Linked DNA regions of Homo sapiens: regions 2 and 3 are each linked to region 1. Evidence: promoter capture Hi-C in 16 types of primary human blood cells and fetal thymus (Javierre and others, 2016). All regions are on one chromosome and are shown on one strand. The core of a region is centred on a gene start or on the middle of the fragment in contact, and the rest is flanking DNA. Distances in the headings are between cores, read along the strand shown.

Evidence for each region. Contacts are between HindIII fragments. The CHiCAGO score rates a contact against its expected background, and 5 or more counts as called.
Region 2: a fragment that was not itself captured here is called in contact with the fragment with the promoter of PICALM in region 1 in 1 of 17 cell types (neutrophils); the score reaches 5.6 in neutrophils.
Region 3: a contact is called between a fragment that was not itself captured here and the fragment with the promoter of PICALM in region 1, in 1 of 17 cell types (total B cells). The highest score is 5.3, in total B cells.

The regions. Positions count from the first base shown.
Region 1 is chr11:86,067,773-86,070,472 of GRCh38, reverse strand. It overlaps PICALM (phosphatidylinositol binding clathrin assembly protein), which reads left to right and starts at 1,389. Exons shown (of 20, transcript NM_007166.4): 1 at 1,389-1,822. The coding sequence starts at 1,693. LOC124902731 (a long non-coding RNA gene) reads right to left here and starts at 549. Exons shown (of 2, transcript XR_007062823.1): 1 at 1-549. RefSeq lists silencers at 875-1,144, 1,295-1,464, 1,605-1,654, 1,725-1,774 and enhancers at 400-1,599, 1,339-2,040, 2,041-2,700. The HindIII fragment of the contact is 7,123 bases long and covers 1-2,545 here.
Region 2 is chr11:88,339,716-88,342,415 of GRCh38, reverse strand. All of the region lies in intron 1 of LOC101929174 (a long non-coding RNA gene), which reads right to left. Among named protein-coding and RNA genes, the nearest start is that of CTSC, 3.3 kb to the right of the region's middle. The HindIII fragment of the contact is 3,535 bases long and covers 1-2,700 here.
Region 3 is chr11:83,072,767-83,075,266 of GRCh38, reverse strand. It overlaps RAB30-DT (RAB30 divergent transcript), which reads right to left. Exons shown (of 3, transcript NR_038903.1): 2 at 2,463-2,500; 3 at 1,555-1,964. All of the region lies in intron 2 of LINC02951 (long intergenic non-protein coding RNA 2951), which reads left to right. Among named protein-coding and RNA genes, the nearest start is that of RAB30-DT, 2.0 kb to the right of the region's middle. The HindIII fragment of the contact is 384 bases long and covers 1,059-1,442 here.

The sequences.
Region 1 (2,700 bases), core at 140-2,639:
ATGGGAGACCACAAAATTCCTGATATGATACATAAAATGTTAAATATCTATCAGCTTTGCATCCTTTGAGAGTCACCAGATTGAAGCACAGTATTTTGGATTTGGCTGGCAGATGGTGTACACAGACTTTCTGAGAATGTTAGCATTTCATTTGAAACTAGCAAGATTACATGTGACTATCATGGTAACTTAGCACTCACATATTTTTCAACTTATCCCTAACCCTGGGTTGAATGTAGAGGCTCTAATAACATATAAAAGGCTTTGTTAATGTATGGTCTGGGTCTCATTGAATAGTATTTCAGGATGTAATACTTCTTTTAAAATGTCCACAGGGCAGTGTCAACGTCTTTCCATGGAAATCTGGCTCACCCAATAAGAGAAAAGAGGCCAAAGGTAAGAAAGACTAAACCAGGGGAGATGGCAGGCAGTGATGTCTGGACTGTTTGAATGGGACTTCTCCATTTACCGCCCCTCTCACTTCCTTCTATGGTCTGGACCTTTAATCACCACAGCAGTCAGCCATGTAGGGTCAAGCTAATCGCTGTTGACATCATCCTACTACTTCCCTTTTCAAATTCCAGTGAAGCTATGTGTTTCCTGTCCTATTCCACACCCTAGAGAATGAATACCGGCCAGCTAGTATCTAAATTTAGAATGGCAGCAACGTGTCGGGTTTTCGGAGTAGAGATAAACAAAACCAGGTGACATTTCCAAGCCTCTCAAGGAAAGGGGGGAAAAAACCTTTCTGGGGTAAGTAAATAAGGAGAGCTTCAATAGTTCCATGGTAGAGAGAGGCCTGCTGGAAGGTTCAGAAAATAGGCCGTTTGGAACCTTCTCCTTTAAGCCAGGAGGGCGGCTTTGGGAGGCGTCTTGAAATACATTCTTGACTCTGCTGGGAAAGCTCGGGGAGCCAGAGGCCTAATACCCCCCACTTCAGGGGAAGCTGTGAAGGCAGCTGCACCTCCTTTGTCAAGCTGTTGGTTTCAACCACAGACACGAGGACACACTTGAGGTGGGGGGATAAGGGGAGAAGCCTGCCGCCCCGCCCCACCCCCGCCAGCACACCGCCCTCGCCATTCCTCTCCCGCCCCGCCCCGCCCGGCGTCTGTGACCCCGCGGGCCGAGCCTCAGGCGACCTGTTGGCAGGGAGAGTCACGTGATGCGCCGGCTGTGCACTCCCCTCGGGCGGGCCTCCTGTTGCGCCCGCCTGGCGAGTTCCATCACGTAACGCGCGGGCGCCGCCCAGCTCTTCCCTCGCTGAGCGAGGGAGGGCGGGCGTCGAAGAGGAAAGGGAAGGGGAAAGGGGCGGGAGAAGGGAGGAGGGGCGGTGTCCGAGTCACGTGACCCGGGGCAGCCCGGAAAGCTCCGAGGAGGAGCCTGGCGCCGCCATTTTCCTGCAGCTGCCTGTTCCTCTTACCCTGCCCGGCTCCAGCTGACCCGGGAAGGGGTGGGCTGAACTGAGGCGGGGGCAAGGGAGTGCCCGACATCTTGTCCGACTCCGCGGGTGACACGAGCCGGTTCTCTCTGGACTGGTGGCAGCGCGCGGCCCCGAACCGCGCCCCAGGCCGGCAGGCGGGGAAGGAGCCGGTGGGGGTAGGGGGTGCGGTGGGGGGTGGGGACCCTCCGGCTCTTGGGGGTCCCAGTCCCCGCCGGCTGCTGAGCGGGTGGGGTGGTGGAGGAGCTGCAGAGATGTCCGGCCAGAGCCTGACGGACCGAATCACTGCCGCCCAGCACAGTGTCACCGGCTCTGCCGTATCCAAGACAGTATGCAAGGCCACGACCCACGAGATCATGGGGCCCAAGAAAAAGCACCTGGACTGTGAGTGAAGCCGACCGCGGCCCCCGCTCCCCGGCGCCCGCGCGACCCGCGCGCGTCCTTCTCTCTCTCTCTTGTCTTTCACCCTTCTACTGCCTCTTCCCTCCCTGCGTCTTCTCTGGCACGGCCGGTCCTGTGCCCGTTGAGCTGTGTTCTTTTGCTTCCATCACACCTGCCTTCACGGCCTCCGCTCCCCGTCTCAAAATCTGACAAGCCACTCCCCTCCCTATTCCTAGGGGACCCTCGTCTCCCTGCCCGGTGCGCTACCACACCCCATCATACCCAACCAACTTGCTTCCCCACCTGGCTTCTCACCCCCTACCCGTCTCCACTGCAGCCTTCTGCTCTTCCTTCCCACCCGTCCGGTGCCGCCTCGTCGCCCTCGTCTGAGCGTCTCCAAGCCCCATTGTTTCTTCATCAGCCTCCTTCGGGTTTCAGTAAACGCCTGGTTCCTTGCATCCAGATCCTTGTTATCCCTCCGGGCTGCCTCCCTGGAAGGGATCCCCCACTTCCTTTGCTCCACTAGCTGCTTCGCCCATCCCTTCCTGGCTTTCTGTTCCACCTTCCCTCCTGCTTTTGGGTTACCTTTTCATCGCCTCTATAGTAGCTTCAGTGTAGTTTCTTCGACTCATTTTAAATACCATACCCAGTTACCCGACTTTTATTTCAGATTACCTTCTTTGTGGGAGTGAAAGTAAAAGGATTCAATTTGGTGTAGGGAAAGCTTTCTGGAAAGTTGGGATTTTTATTTGCCTCTGGTGGAATTTAATCGTTGTGTTGTCCATACTTTTGACTGGGGTGAGTTTGTGACTGTCAGCTCTGCCCCCCAGCTTTTCACATGGGGATATGGAAAAAGGCATTTTGCTGATACTCTTATCAGT
Region 2 (2,700 bases), core at 167-2,666, 2.3 Mb before region 1:
AACTACTTATAGTAAGATATAAGAAAAAACAGAATAGAAAAACATTAGAAAATTTGAAGCCTGGCCACCTTAACAGTGAAAGGGGTGTTTGGGTATGGTCAAGAGATTGCTAAAGAGGTCACCATGGATAGAATGAAGCCAAAGGCTATCCATGACAATGAAATTAAAAACCCCAGAGGCATTTCTGGGATCTTTGAGGCTGCCCCTTCCTCATAGGCCCTGAGCTCTAAGAGGGCAGAATAATTCCGGGGATGGACTGCTGCCCAGGGCTGCTTTGGGTCTCTACTCCCTGCGTTCCAGCACACTGCTCCTCAGCGCCCCCAGCTGTGGTTCAAGCAGCCACAGGTGCAGATTAACCTGCAGCTCTAGGATGTACAAGTGGTAAACCATGGCAGTATCCATGTGGTACTAATTCTGCAGGTGCATAGAATGCAAGAGCTGTGGAGGCCTGGCAGCCTCCACCTAGATTTTGAAGAATGTGTTGGACTGTCTGAGGGTAGAGCTACTGCAGAGAGCTTCCACTAGGGCAATACGAAGTGGAACAGTGGAACTGGGGTTGTTGCATAGAGCCCCCCTAAGGGCAATGCCTAATGCAGCTGTAAGAGCCAGACTGCCACCAGGACCCCAGAACAGTAGAGCCACCAGCAGCATGCAATACCTGCCTGGGAAAGCTGAGGGCACCAGGGTGCCTTGAGGCCTCCTGAAATACCCCATCCCCCAATGTGCACAAGATGCTGTACATGGAATCAAGAAAGATTATTCTCCAGCCTTAAAATTTAAGTCTTCTCTGCTGAGTTTTTGACTTGCTTGGGCCTGTTACTTCTTTCTTCTGGCCTGTTTGTCTCTTTTGGAAAGGGAGTGTATACCTTATACCTGTCCCACCATTGTATCTAGGAAGTAGATAACTTGTTTTGATTTCACAAACTCCCAGATGACACTTTAGACTTTTGAGTTGGTGCTGGAACAAATTCAGTCTTTTGGGACTACTAGGATGGAATGACTGTATTTTGAATTGTGAGAAGGCCATGAATTCTGGGGGTCAGGGACAGAATGCTGTGGTTTGAACATAGGTTGTCCCCCAAAAGTCATGTGTCGAGAGGTGGGACCTTTGAGAAGTGATTGGCAGTGCCCTCATGAATGGATGAATCTATCATGGGTTAATAGATTAATGGATTATGGAATTATCAAGGATTAGTTATCATGAGGGTGGGTCTGTAATAAGCACTAGTTTGGCCATCTCTCATGACCCCCTTTGCCACGTGATACCCTGTACTACCTTGGGATTCTGCAAAGAGTCTCAACCAGCAAGAAGGGCCCCCTTCGATGGGGCCTCTTGACCTTGGACTTACCTGTCTCTAGAACTATAAAAAATAATTTTCTTTGTTTTAAATTACCGAGTCTCAGGTACAGTTCTAGCAACAGAAAACAGACTAAGACAGATGCTGATGTCCCTGGTCCTAGGCTACACTTTGAGAACCACTGCCAAGTAATGCTGCCTCTCTGTAAACCTGCTTTTAATGATGGGAGCCTACTGACAGACCATGTTTTGCACATAAGCTCACTTTTGTTTTATATAATTTTAACATATACTGAATTTTTGGGAATGCAACCTCTTGATAAACCTTCAACAGAAAATTCTACTTTGTTCTCCTGGGAATTTGACCAAGAATTGTCCAACATCAACAACTTTGGTATGGTGTTTGAGTGATTAATTGATAAGGTATTTGAGTTATAACTCATCAGAAATCATTTGTGCTCTCAGAAAAAAGTTCCTATCACATTTACCACGATTCTACAATTTTACATAGAAGTGAAACCACCTTTGCAAAAATTACAACTGTGAAAGAAATCAGACCTAATCGACTCCATCTTGCTTCTAATCTTTAAGCTGTCCTTTTTCATTCCTGGGCATAGGTGGAACAAACTTTGGGAAGTAATTCAGTTCATGGTTTGACTCTGAAACAAAATTGATAATAGCCCTTTCCCAAAAAGACTCCCTTCTTGCCTGGGGACCAGTCTGCCTTCGCAGGACTAACAAATTAGCTACAAGATTAGAAATTACAGTTTAGGGGTCATGTGGCCTCTGGCTCCAAGAGTCTGCACCCTCCCACCCTCCAAGTTGCTTCTGGGGATAACATCTCTATTGTAAAATCTAAGATCAGTGCTTGAGATATTTTACAGACCCTGCACTCCATAGATCAGCTGACACCACTGAGACCAGCAATCTGGCTCAACCATATCTGCCATCCCACCCAGGAACAGAAGATAGCAAGAAAAACTCACTTAGACCCCCTATGATTCCATCTCCAACCTAACCAATCAGCACTCCCCACTTCCCAAGCCCCTACCCACCAAATTATCTTTGAAAACTCTGATCCCTGAATGCTCGGGGAGACTGATTTGAGTGATAATAAAACTCCCGTCTCCCCCACAGCCGGCTCTGTATGAATTACTCTTCCTCCATTGCAATTCCCCTGTCTTGATAAATTGGCTCTGTCTAGGCAGCAGGCCAGGTGAATCCATTGGGTGGTTACAGAAGTGTGAAGAGCAAGTATCTGAGTGCCTCATTATGTTTTCCAACACAGTCATACTTGAACATTTTACATGATGGGATATAACTTATTATACTAGAAATATATTTAAAATATCTGATTTCTTCTTTATATTACATTTGGCATTACATTTCTTTTTATTAAGTGT
Region 3 (2,500 bases), core at 1-2,500, 3.0 Mb after region 1:
GCGTGAGCCACCGTGCTTGGCCCGGTTGGTCCTCTTAAAGCTAAAACTGATCTCATCTCCTCTCACTCCCCTCTCCCTCCCACAATTGCCATGTGTAAACCGTTCACCAGGTAAATTCCTTATCTACACATTTTCAGAATTCATTCATGGGTATAATTAGCAATAAACCTAAAATCTTTCTCAAAGCTTTTGTTATTGTGTGACTTACTGCAAAAATACAAACACAGGATGTAGAGGACTACTCCACCCAACTCTTGTAGACTCACCTATAGTTTTAAAAACACAATACTTGGTTCTAACCCTGGAGATTTCAACAGGGATGGGAAGGTAACAGCCATATACTTTTAGAGCTGTATAGGTTATCCTGACACCTCTACTGAAAAAAACCCTTGCTCTAACAGCAATTGGCTTCATACTCTTAAATGAGCTACCTATAATTTTAATACAAATCCATGTCCTAATTCTCTTTATTATTTTTTTGAGATAGGGTCTTGCTGTTGCCCAGGCTGGAGTACAGTGGCTCAATCTCTGCTCACTGCCACCTCCACCTCCCCAGTTCAAGCGATTCTCCTGCCTCAGCCACCCTAGTAGCTGGTATTACAGGCGCACGCCACCACACCTGGCTAACTTTTCTATTTCTTGGAGATGGGGTTTCGCCATGTTGGCCAGGCTGGTCTTGAACTCCTGGCCCCAAGTGATGTGCCCATCTCGGCCTCCCAAAGTGCTAGGATTACAGGTGTCAGCCACTGTGCCTGGCCCTAATTCTTTTTTGAGAGATGAAAAGCTTTACCTCCTCTAGATATTCCTAATTCCACTTTAACAATATTTTCCTAAGTTGTGGTGTTTCTATGGGACACTGTTATTTTTTCAGAAGCTGGCCTCCCCAACTCCTCAAATATCAATTTTATAAATAAAATTTATAATGAGTGCAGGATTTTTTCATCTTTATGGTCAGATGTCCATTAGATACAAGGATAGAAAAACTTCAAACTACCCAAACACATGACAAATTATAGAAATCACTGTATTCTAGAGGTATCACTTCTCAAACACAAGCTTTCTTTCTTTTTTAAAAACAGACATAGTCTCACTGTTGTCCAGATTGGAGTACAGTGACACAATCATAGCTCACTGCAGCCTCAAACTAATGGGATCAAGTGATCCTCCTGCCTCAGCCTCCCAAGTAGCTAAGCCTACTGGCATGCACTACTATGCCCAGCTCACACAGAAGGTTTCTGAGTAATCTGTTGCTCTTTTTCCCTACAATTTGTCTTCCATATAACTCAAACTGACAAGGCTATGGCTTACATAAAGAAATATATTATAAATCAACAACACTCATGATAAGTTTACATAAGACATGAGAATACACCTGAATCACCAACCGGGAAAAATGATTGAAGAGCTTGAAATTAAGCCTAAGTGTAAGTCTCTGTTAAGCTTACAACATTACAATAGTTAAATCGAAGGTTAGAAAGAAAATGGTAGACATTGCTCCTTTTCCTGTACTTACCACCATTACTTAGAGAAGTTTCTGAATAACAACAACTTTGAGCCTTTTTCATTGTTGTATTCATGGATGACACCAACACATACTACTTCTGCTTAAAAATCAAACTCATTCATCTTGACTTGTTCCCAGAAACATGACACAGAAGATCATTTTTTGAAAAAGTATTTTTGTAATTACCATCTGCATACACCTGAGAGACTGTTTCTAACATGTTTTGGTCATTTTTAATCATTCTATCTGCCTTTCTTTGTTATAAGGATCTATTTTTAATTTTATTCACTCCTAACATAGAGGGGAAGTGCATACCTTCAATGACGCAAAGTAACTAGTTAATGTTGTTTCAGAATAATATGCAAAAGGGAAGGGAGGAAACAGCACAAAGTATATCATATTTTTACACATCAGACACCTTCAGGAAGAAAGGACATTTCTCATCTTAGTGTGACAGACTCTGAAAAAGAACACACAGCACTGTTTCAGTGACACAAGAAAAAAAGTACAGTTCATTTTGAGATACTGTGCAAAATCACTCAAAAGACAATTAACTTTGGTTTCAGTCACTTAGTTAAAAAAAAAATTTATCCATGACCGATGTTACTCTGGAATCTATTGCCAGACGTCAGAAGGCCTATCATCAATAATATCCCACCCCTCCCGCCTTTTCTGAGACACGGGCTTGCTGTCGCCCAGGCTGGAGCACAGTGGTAGGATCGAGGCTCACTGCAGCCTCAACATCCCGGGCTCAAGCGATCCTCCCACCTCAGCCTCTAGTGTAGCTGCAACTACAGGGGTACACCACCATGCCCAGCTAATTTTTTTGTTTAATGTTTTTGTAGAGACGGTACGGGGTCTCCGCATGTTGCCCAGGCTGGGGTTGAACTCCTAGAATCACGCTATCTCCCCGCGTCTGCCCCCAAAGTGCTGGGATTAAAGGCGTGAGCGACCGCACCTGGCCAATATCCCCTTTGAACATCTGCTTTCGCTGGT